3 separate regions of the Homo sapiens genome follow, and all the other regions are linked to region 2. The links are contacts of gene promoters, found by promoter capture Hi-C in blood cells and fetal thymus (Javierre and others, 2016). All regions are on one chromosome and are shown on one strand. The core of a region is centred on a gene start or on the middle of the fragment in contact, and the rest is flanking DNA. Distances in the headings are between cores, read along the strand shown. Region 1 has its middle 29 kb from the start of APLN. Region 2 holds the start of UTP14A (UTP14A small subunit processome component). Region 3 overlaps RAB33A (RAB33A, member RAS oncogene family).

Region 1 (3,028 bases), core at 370-2,869, 280 kb before region 2:
CTGGCTAACACGATGAAACCCCGTCTCCACTAAAAAATACAAAAAAATTAGCCAGTCGTGGTGGTGGGCACCTGTAGTCCCAGCTACTCTGGAGGCTGAGGCAGGAGAATGGCGGGAACCCAGGAGGCGGAGCTTGCAGTGAGCTGAGATCACGCCACTGCACTCCAGCCTGGCTGACAGAGTGAGACTCTGTCTCAAAACAAAAAAAGAACATCGAATTATCTCTATTCATTGACAATATGACTCTACACCTAGAAAATTCTAAAGATTTCACCTAAAGACTGCTAGATCTGATAAACAACCTCAGTAAAGTTTTAGGATACAAACCAATGTACAAAAATCAGTAACATTTCTATATGTCAATAACATTCAAGCTGAGAACCAAATGGAGAACACAACCCCATTTATAATAGCCAAAAAAAGAATAAAATACCTAGGAACACAGCTAACCAAAGAGGTGAAAGGTGTCTACAAGGAGAACTACAAAACACTGCTCAATGAAATCAGAGAAGACACAAACAAATGAAAAAAACATTCCATGCTGATGGATTGAAAGAACCAATATTGTGAAAACGACCATACTGCCCAAAGCAATCTACAAATTCAATGCAATTCCTATCAAAATGCCAACATCATTTTTCAAATAATTAGAAAAAATAATCTTAAAATTCATATGTGTATTAGCCTGTTCTCACTCTGCTAATGAAGACATACCCAAAACTGGGTAATTTATAAAGAAAAAGAGGTTTAATGGACTTACAGTTCCACATGACTGGGGAGGCCTCACAGTCATGGTCGAAGGTGAAGGAGGAGCAAAGGAATGTTTCACATGGTGGCAGGCAAGAGAGAGCGTGTGTAGGGAAACTCACCGTTATAAAACCATCAGATATTATAAAACTTACTATCATGAGAACAGCATGGGAAAAACCCGCCCCCATGATTAAATTACCTCCCACCAGGTCCCTCCCATGACATGTGGGGATTATGGGAACTAAAATTGAAGATGAGATTTGGGTGGGAACACAGCCAAACCGTATCAATATGGAATCAAAAAACGGCCAGAATAACCAAAGCAATCCTGGGCAAAAAGAACAAAGCCAGAGGCGTCACATTACCTGACATCAAATTATACTACAAGGGCACAGTAACCAAAAGAGCATGGTGCTGGTACAAAAATAAATACAGACACATAGACCAATGGAACAGAATAGAGACCCCTGAAATAAAACTGTACACCTACAACCAACTGATCTTCAGCAAAGTGGACAAAAATAAACAATGGGGAATACCCAATAGGACACCCTACTCAATAAATGCTGCTGGGAAAACTGGCTAACCATATGCAGAAGAATGAAATTCAACCTCTACCTGTTACCGCATACAAAAATTAACACAAGGTGGAATAAAGACTTAAATGTAAGACCATAAACTATAAAAATCCTAGAATCAAACTTAAGAAATACTCTTCTGGCCATTGGCCAAGGTAAATAATTTATAACTAAGTCCTCAAAAGCAAATGCAACAAAACCAAAAATTGACAAGTAGGACCTGATTAAACTAAACAGCTTCTACACATCAAAAGAAGCCATCAACAGAGTAAACAGACAACCCACAGAATGGGAGAAAATAGAGGCAAACTATGCAAACAACAAAGGACTAATTAATATCTGGAATCTATTAGGAACTTAAACTCATCAACAAGGAAAAAAACAAACAACCCCATTAAAAACTAGACAAAGGACATAAACAGACACTTCTCAAAAGAAGACATATGAGTGGCCAACAAACATATGAAAAAATGCTCAACATCGCTAATCAGAGAAATGCAAATCAAAACCACAATGAGATACCATCTCACACCAGTCAGACTGGTTCCTATTAAAAAGTCAAAAATAACAGATGTTGGCGAGGTTGCAGAGAGAAAAAAAACACTCATACACTGTTGGTGGGATTGTAAATTAGCTCAGCTCCTGTAGAAAGAAGTTTGGAGATTTCTCAAATAACTGAAAATAGAATTACAACTTGACCCAGCAATCCCATTACTGGGTATGTATCCAAAAGAAAATAAATCGTTCTACCAAAAAGACACATGCACTCGCATGTTCATCGCAGCACTGTTCACAACAGCAAAGACATGGAATCACATCAGCCTTGGTGCCCATCAGTGTGACTGGACAAAGAAAATGTGGTATATGTACACCATAGAGTACTATGTAGCCATAAAATAAATGAAATTGTGTCCTTTGCAGCAACATGGATGCAGCTAGAGGCCATTATCCTGAGTGAATTAACACAAACAGAAAACCGAATACCACATGTTCTCACTTATAAACAGCAGCTAAATATTGGGTAAACACAGATATAAGGATGGGAGCAATAGACACTGGGGACTCCAAAAGGTGGGAGGGAAGGAGGAGGGCAAGGGTTGAAAAACTACCTACCAGGTGCTATGTTCACCGTTTGGGTGATGGAATCAATAGAAGCCCAAACTTCAGCATCACACAATATATCCATGTAACAAATCTGCACATATATCCCCTGAATCTAATGTTTTCTAAAAAAAGGTTTCTGCCTCAGCCACATGGGAATTGTCATGTACTGCCATTTACTTCAAAGGGACCAGGTATGCAGGAGGAGAGGATCAGGCAATCAGTGCTGGTCACATTATGTTTGAGAAGCCTATTGGACATCCAAAGGGAGATGATGGATAGGCAGTTTAGTACATGAGTCTGGAGCTCAAGGGAGATGCCTATAACTTTCCTATTTTGTTGTTGTTATTGTTTGTTTGTTTGTTTTGTTTTGAGACAGAGTCTCGCTCTGTTGCCAGACTGGAGTGCAGTACCACAATCTCAGCTCACTGCAATCTCCGCCTCCTGGGTAAGTGATTCTCCAGCCTCAGCCTCCCGAGTAGCTGGGACTACAGGGGTGCGCCACCACACCCAGCTAATTTTTGTAATTTTCTTAGAGGTGGGGTTTCACCATGTTGGCCAGGATGGTCTCGATCTCTTGACCTCGTGATCTGCCCACC
Region 2 (3,017 bases), core at 467-2,966:
CTGCACTCCAGCCTGGGTGACAGAGCGAGACTCCGTCTCAAAAAAAAAAAAAAAACAAAAATTAGCCAGGCGTGGTGGCGCATGCCTGTAATCCCAGCTACACGGGAGGCTGAGGCAGGAGAATCACTTGAACCCAGGAGGCGGAGGTTACAGTGAGCCAAGATCGCGCCACTGCACTCCAGCCTTGGCAACAAGAGCGAAACTCCGTCTCAAAAAAAAGAAAAGAAAAGAAAAGAAAAGAAAAGAAAAGAAATCAACAGTTACTAAATGCCACACAAAGTTCTGGGAAGCCAAAGACTGAGAGGTATCCGTTTTATTTAGCAACTTTGGGTGTCGCTGATCTTGTCCAGAGCAATTTCTGTGGAATAATGGGGCAAAAGCAAAATGGGAATGGATTACAAGAATGAAAAGAACGGGCCGGGCGCCGTGGCTCACGCCTGTAATCCTAGCACTTTGGGAGGCCGAGACGGGTGGATCATGAGGTCACGAGATCGAGACCATCCTGGCTAACACGGTGAAACCCCGTCTCTACTTAAAAAAAAAAAAAAAATTAGCCGGGTGTGGTGGCAGGCGCCTGTAGTCCCAGCTACTCAGGAAGCTGAGGCAGGTGAATGGTGTGAACCCGGGAGGCGGAGCTTGCAGTGAGCTGAGATCGCACCACTGCATTCCAGCGTGGGCGACGGAGTGAGACTCCGTCTCAAAAAAAAAAAATGAAAAGAATGTTCTTGTCTATTATTTTTCTACAATCATTAATTAATATATATATATATTAGGCCGGGCCCGGTGGCTCACACCTGTAATCTCAGCACTTTGGGAGGCCGAGGCGGGCAGATCACTTGAGGCCAGGAATTCTAGACCAGCCTGGCCAACGTGGCAAAACCCCGTCTCTACTAAAAATGCAAATATTAGCCGAGCATGGTGGCGGGTGCCTGTAATCCTAGCGACTCGGGAGGCTGAGGCAGGAGAATCGCTTGAACCCGGGAGGTGGAGGTTGCAGTGAGCTGAGATCACGCCATTGCACTCCAGCCTGAACGACACAGCAAGGCTCTGTCTCAAAAATAAATAAATAAAATTCTTAAAAGTTGATGGGAGAAAAAAAGTTGTTTAAAAAAATTTTTTTAAGTTGATGGGAGGTGAGGAAGCGTAGTTACTGATGGCCCCTTCTTGGATAAAAAAAATCTTTTGACTCAGGAAATGAAGAACAAAGCTGCAATTACAAGGGATCAAAGGCGATTTTTCCTTAAATGGAAGGAAACTTGTTATGTTCACCATCGGATCTCCGGGGCCCGGCACAATCTGGCCACTTAATAGGCATTCAATAAACCCCCGAGCTGGCTTGTGGTCGGCTTGCAGGACGCCGTCGCACAAGGACGGGCGCTGTAGTCTTTCCTTCTGGATTCTGCAGTGACGAATGAAGGCGCGGGCTCAGCCCCTGAGAGCGCAGCACCGTCGCCCTAAGCTAACCCACCTTGGGCCACGTGGAAACCAGGGGCCAGGAGGACAGACACCCGCGCGCCAGAGAAATACGGGGTGGGTGGAGAAAGGAATGCCCCACCCGCTGACAGCCGTTTCATCTCAGGCCTCCCAGTTTTCTGCAGGCCCCTCCCTACACGGCTCCTGCTTCTCTCACGCCTCGTACGGAACGGAAGTGACGTGTACGTCGCGAGCGATTGACGGAAACAGAAATTGCTTTGCGGCCCGCACGGAAATTGCTTTCCTTCGGCTTCCGTTCTTGGTCCATGTGAGAGAAGCTGGCTGCTGAAATGACTGCGAACCGGCTTGCAGAGAGGTGAAGGGCAACGAGGGGAGGGGGGATTCTGGGTCTCGTTGGGGGCCGGGTTCCCCAGCTTTTGGGAAATGGGAGCCCCCCCTTTAACAGATGGCAGTGGTTCCCCTGAAGAGCTGGCCATTCGTTCCTATTTTCCGCGATCCAGCCTTTAAAGCCCTTTTAATTTAATTTCATTCGCTTACTCCGCTCCTCAGCTGTATAGCCGCATCCCTGTTGGTCCTGATGCTGTTTCTGCCTCCCCAGCTCATTTACTGTGTTTCACATTTTTCGTCACGTGGCCCCTTTTTCTGCCTCTGTCGCGGCCCGATTTAATCCTCTGCGCAGGCAGTGCAGGCGTTATAAACTCCCCGAATCTTGGAAAGCTTTGCTGATTGGAGTCATCCACCACGTTTTGGCTCCTGTGATGTTTTGTGCCCCCCCCACCCCGCCCCCGGAACTAAATGTAGTCCGTTTAGTAATGTTGGCTTTGCAAATACTAATAATATATGCTGTTAGGTAATGGTACATTTTATAATTTGTTTGTGGGTACCAATCTCCTTAGTTAAGCACCTACTTTACTAAGCAAGCCCCAGGGAAAGTGGCTTACCCAGCTGCTTTCGACCTGTTTCTCCATTCCTGGGAACAAGGATCAAGATAACACTTTTGATTAGGCTGCCTATCAATGAGTCAAATATATGGAGGATGCTTAGAAATATTAATCGTGAAACTGCCTTGCCTCCAGGGCTAGCTAGCAACAGCGTCTTTGGCCATATTATTCTAGGGTCTGACATTTTTACAGCTTCCCATAGGTCATAGGAAATGTTGTGCCAATCCCTGAAAAGTGATAGCTCTTTTACATGCAGTTTTGAAGTCAGGCATCACTCTTGGAGGTGATGCCTGACTTCAGTCTAAATTTCACATCTTGACAAGTTTCCAAAGGCATTCACGCTGCTTTATATATCTTCTGAGGGATAGGGCTATTCTGTGCTGAAATTACAATGTTTTCGAGATTGTTTTAATAGATTAGACATTGCTTCAAATAATAATATTTCTTTTTTTAATTTCGACTTTTATTATAATTAAGGGATACATATGCAGGTTTGTTACATGGGTATATTGCATTCACATTTCTCTGTTGCCTCTTTTAACAGCCTTCTGGCTTTGAGCCAACAGGAAGAACTAGCGGATTTGCCAAAAGACTACCTCTTGAGTGAGAGTGAAGATGAGGTGGGTGACAATTGCTAAACTG
Region 3 (3,228 bases), core at 244-2,743, 270 kb after region 2:
CACTGCATTTCACTCTACAGGACAATATTCAGTCCCCTAGATTGGGGGAGTTTGACAGGGGGAGATAGAATGCCAGGCAGCCAGTCTTGCTCTTTCTTCTAGGCCAGGGACTTAGGGTTATAGCCCAAGGCCCCCAGGAGCCTTTCAGATGTCTCCTTCAATTTGTATCCAGGACACACAGAACTCAACTGGGTTTACTTTTTTTTTTTTTTTTTTTTTGAGAGGGAGTTTCACTCTTGTTGCCCAAGCTGGAGTGCAATGGCACGATCTCAGCTCACTGCAACCTCGGCCTCCTGGGTTCAAGCAGTTCTCCTGCCTCAGCCTCCTGAGTAGCTGGGATTATAGGCACCTGCCATGATGCCCAGCTAATTTTTATATTTTTAGTAGAGATGGGGTTTCACCATGTTAGCCAGGCTGGTCTCGAACTCCTGACCTCAGGTGATCCACCTGCCTCGACCTCCCAAAGTGCTGGGATTACAGGCGGGAGCCCTGGGTTTACTTTTTGCACCTTGATTATCTCAACTCAGGTGTGAGATGCAGAAAATGTTCAGAGATAAAAGAGATGTTACAGATTCTGTGATCCAGTGTCCTCCTCTTGCAGATAGGAAACTGAGACTCAGAGAGGGAAAGTGACTTGCCCAAGATCACACAGGGCCAGGCCTAGAACTCATGTCTCCTAATTCCCTTTCTGGTGCTCTTTCCACACATCATGCTGCCTGGCACAAAATCCTCTCTCCAGCCTAGCTCCATGGTCCATCCAACCCACAAGGCCACCTATGACAAGAATCCAGAGGGACATCATAAGAGATAGCTGACAGTCTTTCCTGACATCAGCCTAGGAAGGGTGGAGGCATCCCCCAGCCCCCAAAGGAAGAGTGGAGCTTCCCTTAATGACTATGATGTGTCTGTCACCTACAGATGTAGCTAAATTTATTGAGTCTGTCTCCTAAATGCATTGGAAAATGCCGAATAGGGGTGTGTGTGTGTGTGTAGAGAGGGAGGGTATGTAGTAGAGGGGAGGCTAAGAAACTAATTTTTGAATCATTCTTTGTATATTTGCATGGAAGCTTCACTTCTGTCTATAATAGTTTGGTTCCTCCCACAGGCTGGGCACTCCCTGTGCCCCAGCCCTGGGGACAAGACAAACTGCAGGTCAGCTGTGGCTATGGGCAGGTACAGCTCAGGACTGTGAGTTTCTGTTCCTCTACTGATCACTGGGGGAAAAAAAATACCTTCCTGTGTTACATTATCAAGTGGATGGAGGCTGAGCTAAGTGTTCCTTGGAAGCTGCCTGCAGTCAGAATGACATCATTTCTTCCTTAGGGCTTCTGAGCTTCTATCTTCTGCCAGTTAACTTAATGGTTAATTATCCATCAGTGTAAGTTTCTCTGTCTCCCTTGCTGCTTCTTTCTGTGTGTGAGTTTCTCTTTGTCTCTGTCCTCCTTTGCCATTCTCTGTGTCAGCTTTGTGTGTGGATCTTAGATGCAGATGGGACAGTCCAGCTAGTTGAAAACAGGTTTCTTTTAAACTTTTCCCATCATCCACTGGGGCATGCTCCAGAGGTTACAGATGTATTTGTCTCCTTTTTTTGCACTTCTACCCTCCCCCATCGGCCTCCAACAAAAGCACATTCATGCCTCATCTATAGAAAGATGCCAGTTAATGTTTCCTAGGGAAAAGAAATCCCCCTGTCAGCTAAGAGCACATGCAGGGGGTTGGGGGCTTGCTGAAGCTCGCCCAGAAAATAGTTCAAAAGGTTAGATATCTCTTTGGCAGTTCCCCATGCTGTGCCCCTCCATCCTCCTCCAGCACCCCATCAGTTCGGGCCTGCCCCCGGCCACCCATGGCATGTTGCCAGTATTCCTCTCTCCACCCCCTCCCCACTGGATGGCCTTTAGCTCTGTCTCACCTTCGAGAAGCCAAGCTTTCTGTGATTTCCAGGATGAGAGACCAATGGACCCAAGGAACCATACCAACAGGAGAGGGCTTGATGGCCTTTCTGAGACCAGAGCAACAACTAATATTTGCAGAGTGCTTGACATTTTCCAAAAGTCCTTTCTCATGTGTTATTTCACTGGATCATCCCAGCAACCATAGGAGGATCAAGGTCCCATTGCAGAGATGAGAAAAACAAGGCTCAGTTCAGGGAGGTTAAAAGACTTGTCTGGCATTTACTCAGCTTCTGAGCAGAAGAGCTGGGATGCTTGCTGCCTTTCCAACAGTGCTTGCTCAAGTTGTTGCCCATCTAGACTTAATGGTGGAGGTTTCAGGCCATGAAAGAAGGGAGAGTGTATATTAGGCACTGGGTCACATACTTACAAGGACTACTAATCCTCATAGCATCCCTACCTGATTACTATTGTTATCATCACTTTCCAGATGAGGACACTGAAGTCAGAGAAAGTAACTTACCTAAGGACACCTAACTTATCTAAGGACACCTAACAAGTCATGTACTAACATGACTTGGGCCGAGATCTGCACCCAAGTTGATTTGACTCCACTATACCCCATTGGCCATCTGACAGAAACAAGGATCTGGGGTACATGTATGTGGCTGTGGCTAAGAGGCAGTCTTCACCCCCATCCACTGTATGGATATGGTGCCCACAGGAAAGGAGGAAAGGGTGAGAGGAGAGGCAGCTGCGAAAGAGGAAGGAGATGCTTTCACTGCTTGGCAGGGGCCAGGGGTTTATGAAGATGCTGAGAAAGGAACACCTAACTCTCAAACAAAATGAGATCACTGCTAGGTAAGGTGGCTTGCCAGCACTTTGGGAGGCCGAGGCAGGATGATTGCTTGAGCCCAGGAGATCCAGACCAGCCTGGGCAACATAAGGAGGACCCCATCTCTATGAAATAAAAAAAATATGAAAATTAGTTGGGTGTGCTGGTGCGTGCCTGTAGTCCCAGTTACTCCGAAGGCTGAAGAGGGAGGATTGCTTGCGCCTAGGAGGTTGAGGCTGCAGTGAGCCATGATTGCACTGCTGCACTCCAGCCTGGGTGACACAATGAGATCTTGTCTGGAAAAGAGAGAGAGAGAGAGAGAGAAAGAGACCAGGCGTGGTGGCTCACACCTAGAGTCCCAGCACTTTGGGAGGCCCAGGTGGGCAGATCACTTGAGCCTAGGAATTTGAGACCAGCCTGGGCAACATGGGGAAACCCCATCTCTACAAAAAATACAAAAATTAGCCGGGTGTGGTGGTGCATGCCTGTAGTCCCAGCTACTCG

The links. The method cuts DNA at HindIII sites, captures the fragments that hold promoters and counts their contacts. A CHiCAGO score of 5 or more calls a contact.
Region 1: a contact is called between a fragment that was not itself captured here and the fragment with the promoter of UTP14A in region 2, in 15 of 17 cell types (activated CD4 T cells, naive CD4 T cells, non-activated CD4 T cells and 12 more). The highest score is 20.1, in activated CD4 T cells.
Region 3: a contact is called between a fragment that was not itself captured here and the fragment with the promoter of UTP14A in region 2, in 10 of 17 cell types (activated CD4 T cells, naive CD8 T cells, total B cells and 7 more). The highest score is 10.6, in activated CD4 T cells.

What each region holds. Positions count from the first base shown.
Region 1 is chrX:129,624,346-129,627,373 of GRCh38, forward strand. No RefSeq gene overlaps it. Among named protein-coding and RNA genes, the nearest start is that of APLN, 29 kb to the right of the region's middle. The HindIII fragment of the contact is 5,685 bases long and covers 1-3,028 here.
Region 2 is chrX:129,904,448-129,907,464 of GRCh38, forward strand. UTP14A (UTP14A small subunit processome component) reads left to right here and starts at 1,717. Exons shown (of 15, transcript NM_006649.4): 1 at 1,717-1,789; 2 at 2,920-2,995. The coding sequence starts at 1,764. LOC105373335 (a long non-coding RNA gene) reads right to left here. Exons shown (of 3, transcript NR_188631.1): 3 at 2,817-3,017. The HindIII fragment of the contact is 20,573 bases long and covers 1-2,149 here.
Region 3 is chrX:130,175,295-130,178,522 of GRCh38, forward strand. All of the region lies in intron 1 of RAB33A (RAB33A, member RAS oncogene family), which reads left to right. Among named protein-coding and RNA genes, the nearest start is that of RAB33A, 4.9 kb to the left of the region's middle. RefSeq lists an enhancer at 1,288-1,357. The HindIII fragment of the contact is 857 bases long and covers 1,066-1,922 here.